2 separate regions of the Homo sapiens genome follow, and region 2 is linked to region 1. Evidence: promoter capture Hi-C in 16 types of primary human blood cells and fetal thymus (Javierre and others, 2016). All regions are on one chromosome and are shown on one strand. The core of a region is centred on a gene start or on the middle of the fragment in contact, and the rest is flanking DNA. Distances in the headings are between cores, read along the strand shown.

Evidence for each region. The method cuts DNA at HindIII sites, captures the fragments that hold promoters and counts their contacts. A CHiCAGO score of 5 or more calls a contact.
Region 2: a contact is called between a fragment that was not itself captured here and the fragment with the promoter of PACRG in region 1, in 1 of 17 cell types (M2 macrophages). The highest score is 6.4, in M2 macrophages.

Annotation. Positions count from the first base shown.
Region 1 is chr6:162,725,643-162,731,594 of GRCh38, reverse strand. It overlaps PACRG (parkin coregulated), which reads right to left and starts at 3,621. Exons shown (of 5, transcript NM_001080379.2): 1 at 3,204-3,621. The coding sequence starts at 3,359. PRKN (parkin RBR E3 ubiquitin protein ligase) reads left to right here and starts at 3,829. Exons shown (of 12, transcript NM_004562.3): 1 at 3,829-3,933. The coding sequence starts at 3,927. RefSeq lists silencers at 4,001-4,222, 3,712-4,251. The HindIII fragment of the contact is 2,767 bases long and covers 3,593-5,952 here.
Region 2 is chr6:162,137,985-162,144,024 of GRCh38, reverse strand. All of the region lies in intron 4 of PRKN (parkin RBR E3 ubiquitin protein ligase), which reads left to right. Among named protein-coding and RNA genes, the nearest start is that of LNCR-SMAL, 94 kb to the left of the region's middle. The HindIII fragment of the contact is 2,017 bases long and covers 251-2,267 here.

The DNA.
Region 1 (5,952 bases), core at 2,372-4,871:
AGGACCTCCTGCAGATACCAAAATCTTCAGATGCTCAAGTCCCTGATATAACATGGCGTAGTATTTGTATGTAACCTACACATTTCTACCTATATACTTTAAATCATGTCTATATTACTTATAATATCTAAAACAATATAAATGCTCCATAAATAGTTGCTATGCTCTATTGTTTAGGGAATAATGACTCAAAAAAAAAAGTCTGTACATGTTCAATACAGATAAAATTTTTATCCCAAACATTTCAATCCAAGGTTAGTTGAATCCATGGAGGCAGAATCTGTACAAAGAGCTGACTATATCTGTATTATATACTGATGGTCACGCCAGTTCTGAAAATCTGAAATCCAAAATGCTCAAAAGAGTTTTCTTTGAGTGTAATGTCAACACTCAAAAAGTTTTGTATTTTGGACCACTTCAGGTTTCAGACTTTTGGAATAGGAATACTCAACCTTTAATATTAAAAAAATTATTTATTCCATTCCCCTAAACTTTGAGCATAAAGCATCTATAGTCTTTTGAGAAGGAAAGCTGTAATAGAAAGCTTAGGCTGAACTCAACTTCTCTGTCACCATAACCCTGGGTCGATTTTCTAACTTGCTTCGTGATAAGCTTGTTCAGCACAGAAAGTATCTGACAAGATAAAGACAACAAAATACTGGGTTACTAGTTTCTGGTCATGGGCTCTATCACACCCCAAACAAGACTTTTAAAGGAAAATGAACTATGAAATCTTCAAGTTGTGTATCTCATATCTCTTTATAGGCAAGCACTATAAAAATGTGAATTTGAATATTATTTCATTGCAGGGCTTTTGTGATGCTTGTTTTCTTATAGAATGCAACAAAAATTTCATGGAAAGAAAGTCTAGTTTCTATTGAAGAAAAATATTTGACATTGAGATTTTAAAAATTTTGCCATTTACATTTATCATTATTTTTTCAATAATCTTGCACTCTCATATCCAGATTGTTTAAATAAGCATTTCTGCTTGCACAGCCCATTTGATGAAACATATTTATTATCAAGTTTATGTACTTGTATCACTATCGCACTCAGAGAAATATCAGGAGTCTCTGTATAACTCCTTATGATATATACAGTTCTTCATGTTTTAGGTGGAAGAGCATTGGAATGTTGACTTATCTAACTGGAAAAGTGGTTTGGAGGGTGTTGGCTCTTGGAGCATGAGGTTGCAATTAAGAAAAGCTGGAAATTGGCATACACGTCCTGAATCAAAATACACCTTCAGAAAGAGATGAGGACATTTTCACCTTATAATGCTGAGAAGTCTATACTGCTAAAGATAAAAATGGTGAAATGTAAATATTGGTTATGAAATTGAAAATTTTTATTTCCTGTACCACTGAAGTTATTTTGTATAAACGGTATTGTCCAGCCTTCTTTTATCAAGATTTGAATGTTGTTATTTTGGTTTTCCTCGGAGTACTAAGGGCAGGGACTTTGCTTTGCTGATCCCAAATCCCCAGAACTGTGCTTAGCAAACACTGGGTATTAAAAAAAAAAAAAAGAGAGACAGTTGTTGACTGAATAAATAGATGAATGGATAAATAATGTTTGCATTTAAGAATTACGATTTCCAATGGCAAGAGAGGTATTGCTAGTACAAGATTTTCCTTTAGAACATAAAAAGAGAAGATAATGGATCTCAATTAAGTTGTTTATAAAGAAGCCTGCTTCATAATCAATGTTTTTTTTAAGTCATGTAGGCATACTTATTACATTTGGCAATACAGAAACATCAGATTTTGCAGAACTATCTCTTTAGGTGTAAGATTATATTAAAGAATTAATATGATACAAGAATTATGAATACAGGTTTAGGAAAAAACAGAAAAGAACCCCAACCAGTAAAAAAAAAATTAAAGTATAACATTAAAAAACATCAAAATTGTAAATATTGTGTAGAAGAAAAACTAAATGATTAACCTGAATGGTTATGGTATTGCTGATAAATGCATCATCTTGACTCCTAGGAGAACCAATTTATGTGAAATTCCATGAAAAAGAATTAGTTACAACAAGCAGAATTTTAGTCCATTTCCAAGAATTTTAACTACTGTAAATCACCTGACACACTTCCCAATAATTAGGATATCGTTTTGCATAGCCACATGGGAACCTGGCCTAGAGGTCTATAGGTAATCTGTTTCATTCATGTATTTTAAGTATGTCGTTTAGGAATAAGTTATCAGGTTTGCAACCTATAAGCAAAGGAAATAATGTGACACTGGAAAACAACACTATTCATTTAACATAATGAATTGCCATGTAATAACTCAGATCTTCCCAGGGTGTAAATTACACAAATTTGAAAGATGCATTTATTATTTAATGCCTCATTCCCAGACAGTTGCTTACTCAGTAGCAAAATCTGTCTTAGCATACCAAGTGTAAAGCTATTTAACAAATAGGAAGGTTTAAAAAATATATACTATCATGCAGACAGCTAAAATATTTGTATATATTTTTAATCTTTTTTCTCTAATGATACTTAGAATATTTTATTTTTATTACTACAAATAATAGAGATGAAATATGAATTGTATTAGTAGCAGAGATATATGAGCTAAAGCTTGTATTGTTTAAAGCACATCATCTTAAAAGGCCTGTCAGGAAACAGTGTTCATATTAAGTTGGCTTTCAGTACTCTAAGAAGATGACATCATTTTGTAAGAGACAAGTGTTGTTAGAGCAAATGCTAGGATATTCTAAAATTTCCTAGGTTGAAGTGAAGAAATTTCTCATTATAGATTATTTCATGAGTTTATGTTCCCGGTTGTATATCAGCTCATGTTAAATTTTGCAAGAGTTTATGATTTCTAAGAACTCACCTTCTATAAGGCCCTTTGCTGAGTGGGGCTAGTTAGGAATTAGTAAGTAAAGGGGATCTTTTTTCCTCGTGTAAATAGCTTAAGAGTAATTTTGGGCGGTCCAGAAACCATAAGTTATCAGGAAGGTGCTTATAAATGGGCAGAGTACATCACTTGCCCAAGATTCTAACAACCTAGCCTGCCCCCCACACACTGTGGGGCACCGTTTGCTACTTGCCAAGTAACTGCCTTTTTTGGCAAAGACCACCCAGGACATGGCTCAGAGTCCATCCTAAGGCTGGCCAACCTCTGTAAATCTCGTGTCCCCTGATTCAGAGCGAGTGCATTTAATTCAGGAAGATCACTTACGACTGAGTTTTTCATCATGGCTTTGACTGTGAAACCCTCAGAAACCAGAGAGTGAGGCTGGTGCACCGGGAGCGGCTGTTGTGCCAGCAGCTTGGTCCTCTTCGGCATCTTGTCTGGGCATTTGTTTAAGCTCAGGGTCTCTTTTTCTGCCACCATCTTCCTAGAAAATGTCTTGTTCTCATAAAAAGTGTAGTAAAAGAATCAGTGGGCTTTACGGATGTGAGCAGGAGGTCTGGAAAAAAATATCAAAAGGCGCGATAATGGTAGAAATTCAACCCCTCGTAGTGCCCAGGTTGATCCAGATGTTTGGCAGCTCCTAGGTGAAGGGAGCTGGACCCTAGGGGCGGGGCGGGAAGAGGGCAGGACCTTGGCTAGAGCTGCAACAAGCTTCCAAAGGTAAGCCTCCCGGTTGCTAAGCGACTGGTCAACACGGCGGGCGCATAGCCCCGCCCCCCGGTGACGTAAGATTGCTGGGCCTGAAGCCGGAAAGGGCGGCGGTGGGGGGCTGGGGGCAGGAGGCGTGAGGAGAAACTACGCGTTAGAACTACGACTCCCAGCAGGCCCTGGGCCGCGCCCTCCGCGCGTGCGCATTCCTAGGGCCGGGCGCGGGGGCGGGGAGGCCTGGAGGATTTAACCCAGGAGAGCCGCTGGTGGGAGGCGCGGCTGGCGCCGCTGCGCGCATGGGCCTGTTCCTGGCCCGCAGCCGCCACCTACCCAGTGACCATGATAGGTACGTGGGTACCTGCCAGGTACAGCCTCTCTGCGCCGCCCCACGCCCCGGTATGGCGCCACGCCCCGCCTCGGCCGACCAGGACCCCCGGTGCCAACTGTCAATGACGGGGCCAAAGTGCCCGTGCCGTCCCCGGCCCGCGCCGCCGGGCTCCCCAGCTCAGCGACGCGGGTCCGGGGCCCCAGTGTGTGCGTTCGAAGCCCTCGCCTGCCCGCCCCTGCTCTGAGCGTTCTCATGAAGACCGCCTCGACGGGGACGCCAGGCGGCCCCGCACCCCCGCTCCTCGTTCGCGGTCCCCCGGACCGTGTGGGGTCCCGAAGCCTTCTCCCCGCCGCCGCCCCTCACCTTCGCCCCGCCGCCGCCCCTCACCTTCGCCCCTCACCTCACTGGCCGGTTGTGGTGCGGTTCAGGACCCATCGAGACCCACTCTCTGTGGGGCTCTTTCAGGAAACCGCAGCAAAGCATTAAACTCTAATGGAAGGCACCTGGTGAGGGTGGCTGGCTCCACAGAAACTCCTCCAGATAGATCTAAACTTGCTCCCTCGGATGTTTCCTTTTAAACTTCTCATTGGAGGGCTGAGATGAAAGAAACATTAAGAGTAAATAGTAGCCAAGATTAAATCTATTGCCTTTTGCAAAATAACCTTTCTTTTTTTTTTTTGTAAAAGAACGACCGAGGTGCAAGTTTGTGAACGAAACTTAGTGGCATCAGAGTTGTTCATGAACACTTGATGTGTAAGATGAGCAAAGGTCCTCTCTTCCAGGGTTGTTGAGCCAAAAGTTACTTTAGGGGCTATCCCTGAAAATTAATGGAAATGCACCATATGTTTGAAAAACAGTGCTAGATGGGGTTTCATTATTGTGGAGGTTTCTCCAGGTTATGTATGGAGGGTTTAGTGAGCTTGTTTATTCCTGAGGAGGGTCCTTTACAAAACACTTTTGATTGCAGTAAGTACGTTCGAAGTCAGATGTGGTCTGTCCAGAAGAAAGATGAGAGGTGGATTTATAAAGTATATGATCTTTATGCACTGAAAACACTTCTTACATCTGTTTATTTGTGAAGTTATTGTTAAAATGTAAACATTCTCCCCATCAGTGGGAGAATCAAGCCAGCTAACTGGCATGGTCTTTGTGGTAAAACAAGAATGTTGTCCAACTTTTCTTCCCTTTCTAGCATGGTCTGACTTTTGGTGAATGACTTGAAAGTTAATCAAATTACGAAAAAAATATTTTTTATGAGTCTTCTTGAGCTCTTTTTAGGTGACATTTACGTAAGATTCACTTGCAAGCACAAGTTTGAACTGAATCAGAAAACCAAGTAGAAGAGATTTTCCAATATCTGTGCTGTCAGTCTACAGGAAGAAAATAGCCTATACCTTATTTTGAAGACAGTTAAATACATTTTATTTTAATTTAACTTAATCTAGTGCACAGATAATTTTAAGAGAAACAAATTTATTGTAAAGCTATATAAAGACAAGCACTTAAGATCTAAAGAACATTACTCAGTTATAAGTTATGACCTAATAAGTGATTATATAAATAACTTTATTAGGATGAAATGTGTTTGGACAGTTCTGTTTAGTTTTATCTGGAATTCTTCCAATAAGGAAGAAATATCTTTGGAGTTGATGATTAAACAGTTATCAATTACTGGTAATGACATGGAGAATATAAGGTTGGTTTTTAAAAGTGTTATTTCTCTCACTCCAGCCATGGTTTTACATAGTGCAAATAAGTGTGCAGTACAACATAAATGATTAAATCCATGCCTGCTTTCCCTAGGAAATGTGCCTTACATATAAGATCATGGACAATGTGCAATAAAATATTCAACTAGTTGCATTGCCTAATTCTGAAATTAGACACACGTCTTTTTTTTTTTTTTTTCCTCTTTTTGAGACAGGTTCTGTCTCTGTCACCCAGGCCGGAGTGCAGTGGCACCATCACAGCTCACTGCAGCCTCCAACTCCTGGGCTCAAGTGATCCTCCCATCTCAGCCTCCTGAGTAGCTGTGAC
Region 2 (6,040 bases), core at 10-2,509, 590 kb after region 1:
TTTCTTTAAATGAGCCAGATAATTTTTATAATGTCTTATTCAATCAAATATGCCATCCGTTCTGTATGAAATTATATATTTTTGACCCTAATGACTAATAACAGTTTGATTCAGAAATATCTAATTACTCATATCTCTCTGTGACTTTTTCCCCATGAGTTCTCTGTGCCTGGAATGGCTGCAGCCCGTCGCTTCACTCCTGTCTTCTTGAATCAAATGCCTTCTCATTTTTCAAGACTCAATTCAAGCTTCATCACCTCTAAGAAACCCATGCAGACAGAATAAACACTTTTCTCCTGGGCAATCTCATTATACCCTGTGCTATTTATTACCTAATATGTGCAATGCTTTATTGCATTTAATTATTTGCATTCTTATTTTCTTCAAATGTATCTTGTTTGCCCTTGATGTTCAGTTCATATGGCTGCTCATATCAGCATGAATTGTATTCACCTGCTAGGAACAAAGTCCAAAAATTCCAGTGATTTTAAAGCTGACAGAAGTGTACATTTTTCTCTGTAGTAGAAGTCTGGTCATAGGTAGTCTAAAGCCGCCATGTATCACCACTGAGAACCAGGATCTCTGCCTCATTGCCCTTATAGTGCATGGCTATTTTCCCAAGGTCACCTCTTGGTCCAAGACATTCTATGGCACATCAGCCATCAAGTCCATAGTGCAAGCAAGAAGAAGAAAGGAGAATTGCTGATAAAGACTCGTACCAGCCAGCTTCATTCTTTGCATTTAAGGAATAATTTTAACCTTCTGCCAACATTTCATTAGCCAGAAATTAGTCAATGATACTTCTAGCTGCAAGGGAGACTTGGAAATCTAGTGTTGTGGGTGGCCATTTTACCACCTTAAATATCTCATTACTCAACAAGGAAGAAGGAGAAAAATATGTATCACCAAGACAACTAGCTAGTGGCCTCTGCCAAGGTGTTCAGTAATTCTCACATGTATAAATAAATAAAGAACATCTCCTAGAACAATTGGCCATGTATTACGTGCCAACACTGCAAATCATCTTGACCAATTCAGTCACAAAATTGGGAATTAACTGAGAAAAAGTCCAAAGGCTAATTAATTAGGTTGATTGCCTTGGTTTATAAGTAATTTTTTATTCAATTCTAGTAGCTTTCCTCAGACTAGTAGTATTTATCATTATTATTTACCTGTTTCCAATTTCCCATCTTTGTAGTAGAGATGATGATAAAATCTACCTCAAACATGGTTGTTAGCGGATAAAATGAATTAATAATGTAAAGTGCTCAGCATGGTAGGTGTTTATTAAATCTTAGCTGTTTCTTCACTAAAGCAATACTGATTCTGTTACTGTTTACTGTTTGTTTACTCTATTTTGGTCACTGTGGGCAATGCTGTACAAATATTAACTCAAATAATTTGATTATAAGTGCCTTTTGAGGTCTGTGTTGTTATCTTTATTGCATAAATAAAAAATCCAGGGGGTCAGGATGGTCATTCGGCTAGGAGACACATAGCGCTTACTATGTTCCCACCACAGTTCTAAGACCTTTATGATCATTAACTGCTTTAGTCTCCATAACAAGCCTATAATGGAGGAACGATGCTCATCTCCATTATTCAAATGAGGAAACTGAGGCAGAGAGAGTTTAACTTACTTGACCAAAGCCATACATCAAGTACCTGGCAGAGACAGGATGTGGAGCCAGGAAGTCTGACTGCCGGATGCAGGCTCTTCACCACTGGGCTGCCATCTGTGCTGCATGAGCCAGGGCTAGCATCTGGAATTCTCTGGTGCAGGTAACCCCATGACCTGGGGTTGTACATTTAGCCAGTATAATACCCCTTCTCACTATGCATTTTCATTTTTTTTCTATCCATTTCTTAATTGGCTACTCTCCTTCTCTCCTGCCTTACTGCTTTTCAGACTTATTGCAGTTTCGTATCTGAGTTTTGTGAACTAAAATCTTTTAAGCAGCTTATGCATGGATATTAATATAAGTGATCATGTGTTTACATACTCTTGGCATTTAATATGAGTCAAAATAGTAAACGGGACAGCTTACAATGGTGCATTGCAGACTATATTTATGGAAAGGTTTTGGTGATCATCTTGCCTGAGTGCGCTATTTTCAGAACAGATAACACACAAATAATCCTGGTTAGACTGACTCTCCTTTAATGCTTCTTCTCTAGGGAAAAAGGCTACTTCCATCAAATGGGACAATGGGCAGCTATTTCTTTATACCTGCTCTTCGTGTGTGTTAACTCCATGTACATAAGCTTCTTTTGCTCCCCCTACTTCCCAACAGTATATACCACTTATGCAAAGTATACTATATAGCAGTATTCTACATTTATTTGAAATCAACTGGATGCTTTTTAAGTTTCTCTATTACCAATATTGACTGCCATGGGTAATTTGCATGTATTGCCTCCAAATCAAGCATGTTTTCTTTCATTTTTATGTTGTCTTAAAATACATAATCAATAAAGCAAAATATGTTGAAATTTAAATGGTTAATTTGAATGTTAATTGAACAGTAAGACAAGTGACTGCACTTATTTGAGCTAGAATGTCTCTGAATACATTAAACTGTAGATTGCACAGTTGAAGTATTCCAAATATATTTAACTTGGTTTATCAAAACCCATTGAAAAATAAAGCATTAGGTAAATTTGATTTGATTTTGAAGGCTTAGTTATATACTTTCAAAGTTTTGAATCTTAGATACTTTTGATAATTTTTATTAAAAACCCAGAAAACTTACTTTTGAGAGAATTTTGGGGAAGTTGCATGAAAGTCAAAGTTTACAAAAACGTGAGTATGCTAGCATGTTTCATTCTGAATAGTCACTATATCATAAATAATCTTTTTTATTTTTATTTTTATTTATTTATTTATTTATTTTGGTGACAGGGTCTCACTCTGTCGCCCAGGCTGGAGTGCAGTGGCGCGATCTCGGCTCACTGCAAGCTCCGCCTCCCGGGTTCACGCCATTCTCCTGCCTCAGCCTCCGAAGTAGCTGGGACTATAAGCGCCCGCCACAACGCCTGGCTACTTTTTGTGTGTTTTTTAGTAGAGACGGGGTTTCACCGTGTTAGCCAGGATGGTCTCGATCTCCTGATGTTGTGATCTGCCCGCCTCGGCCTCCCAAAGAGCTGGGATTACAGGCGTGAGCCACTGCACCCGGCCATCATAAATAATCTTACAGTCTTCCTGTGCTACCACTTTTAAAAATTAATATAATGTAGGCTCTTGTTTCAAAAAACATGGCCTTTATAATAGTAAATATTCCTGACCCAATCCACCTGCATTAAATTGCTTTCATTTGTGGAACTGGTGAGGGCGCTCCTTTTGAACTGGTTTGAGGTCATTTGGCAACCCTCTGAGATGTGGCAATTGTCTTTCCTCCAGTGGCATTGCTTTGCTGTAAAAGGGAACAAGGAAACCAACGAAAATAACACCATTCCCCTTTGGAAGAAAGCCGGAAAAGCAGAGAGCTGGTGCCGTCTAAACCACACACACATATACACACACACATTCTCTCCCTCACAAACACACATTTGTTGTTTATTTTTCAGTTGTCACGATTGCTTTTCTTCATTGTACTGCACTGCATACCTCTGCAGCCAAACACAATTTATATTGCCAAGATAGATGCTATAAAATGAAGTTGAACATGGCAGGCATTGAAAGAGTCGTGTGTTTGCAAATGATTACCTGCCATATGTTTCTCAATTTCTTTTTTTTCTAAATTATCATGAAAAGCAAAAGGCTAGAAGGGCAATTGTGGCTCTTAGTCTTAGAAATTATAATTTTAAACAGGAAACTAAAAGGGAAGTTGGATTTTAGAGTGCGAAAACTGAATCATAATGCAATCCCCAATTGAATGTTCAGAATCATATTATCAAGGACAATGCTTTTATTCTAATAGCTAATTCTGCTGAACTGTTTTCACAGAACTATTTAGTGACTTAAAATCATTCAAATACCCAACTTTATCTCACATGCAGAGTGCCTTTTTAATAAATGAAGTCATTGGTGACATTAAGTTTCCAAAAATATAATGGACTTTCCTATATTTGGACATTTGTACTAAGTAGCATTTATTCAGTATCCTGGCAGGTTCATAATTTTTTTTTTTTTTTGAGATGGAGTCTCGCTCTGTCAGGTTCATAATGTTTAAAACAACTCAAAGTAGGCTTGCAGGCAGGCACCTTCTGTTCGTTGGAGTGGGCCATTTCAGATCAACTGGTACCTACAGATACTTCATTTTATTCCTATGTATAGGTGCGGGTCTGTTTTTATACTTTTTACTCATGTCCTCTGAGGCTGATGTACGTTTCTGCTTTATGAAACCTAATCTCTCAGTGTGAGTCCACAGCTAAGCTGAGAACAAGCTGTCATTCCCAGTGCTAGTTTTAGGCAAACTGACCACCATGGCCCATACATGGAGATGACTGTGATGCTGTGGAGAGTGCTATGGGTGTGTTTCCATCATACTGCCATGCTGATTCTCTTTACCCTGCAGTGGGCCCTTCCCACACCCGACGTCCTCATAAGCCTCTGTTCAAATTGTCTCTTCCCTGTGCCTGTATTCGTCTTTCTGTGTCACGTCACTTGTTAGTGGATTTTTCCATTCTTTGTATATTTCCACAGTTGTCCGCTCTTCAAGGGAAGGCTTTATATTTTTGTAGATACTTATTCTAAAAATTTTCACCCAATTTTAATCTACAAGGACTTAAGATGGTGATAGGTTAATTAAGGCGTGTTAGTGTAGATGCCAAGGAAACACCATTGTTGATGCCAAAGGCATTAAGAGCCTCCTTTGGTTTCTGCCACCATCCCCTAAAATAGTGACAGCAAAATGTACAATATATGCATGAATACAACTCCATTTTTCAGTATTGTGTCAAATTGAGTTTCATTACTTTAAACTTCTTTTTAAGGAGGTAATGGCCCATCTCTGGGTATCAAGGAAGGACTGAAGGCATCGATCATGTCTTCCATCATTCTTAGCCCCCACTCTTGCTTTCTCTTAGTTACCTTCCAACTTCTAAAAATTCTCAAGCTTTGCTTTATCTCCCCTTGTTATTTCCTTGCTTGGATGGGCAGCACCAATTTCTCCTGTGTTGGACCACTTGGTATTGCTTCATAGGTCACTGATACTCTGGCCCTATTTTCTTGGTGAGATGAGTTATGAATGGGTTCTCTTGCTATTTCTTCACATTCACTGCCTTTTTCCCTTCTGCATTATCTAATCAATTGTTAATCTCTCTAGTGTATCTTTATTGAAAATATGGTATTTTTTTCTCTCCATATATTACATTTGAGACTTTCAACACTCACTTTTCTCCTCATCATGATCCTCTTTCCCTCTACTTCCTTGGACATATGGAGCATGTTTGTAATAGTAGCTAAATATTCTTGACTATGAATTTCATTATCTCTGTCATTTCTGGATCTTTTTTAATTGATTGATTTTTCTCCTGGTTGTGGTTCCTATTTTTATGTTTCTTTGCACGATTCATAGTGATTTACTAGATTCCAGACATTGTACATTAGGTGGTGGATTTTGTAGCATTCTGTTTAAAAAAAGTTTGTCTTTATGCAGGCAACAGTTGAGCTAGTCGACATCAATTCCTTTTGAGACTTGCTTTTATGCTTTGCTGGGGCATCCAGAAGAGCCATAATGCTATGGGTAATTTAGCCCCACCATGATGACAGTAGTCTTCTGGCAACTCTACCAGATGCCTCAAGTACCATAAGGTCTCTCCACTCTGTCTGGTGGGAATGCAAAATATCCCACCTCCGTGTGAGCTTTGAGAATTGTTAACCCCATGCATGTACGGAAAAATAATATTCAGCCAGAGATTCAAGGTAGTCTATCCGCAAATTTCCAGAACTCTCTCTGTGCAAGTCACTTCTTTTAGGTATTGTGTCCTGAAAATTCTAGTTTCCTTAACCTCCCTAAACTTCGATTTGTGGTTCCCCAGTTCACCGAGACTTCTAGGCTTTGTTTGGTGTCTCCCTTCCTCTGCTATAGCTAACAAG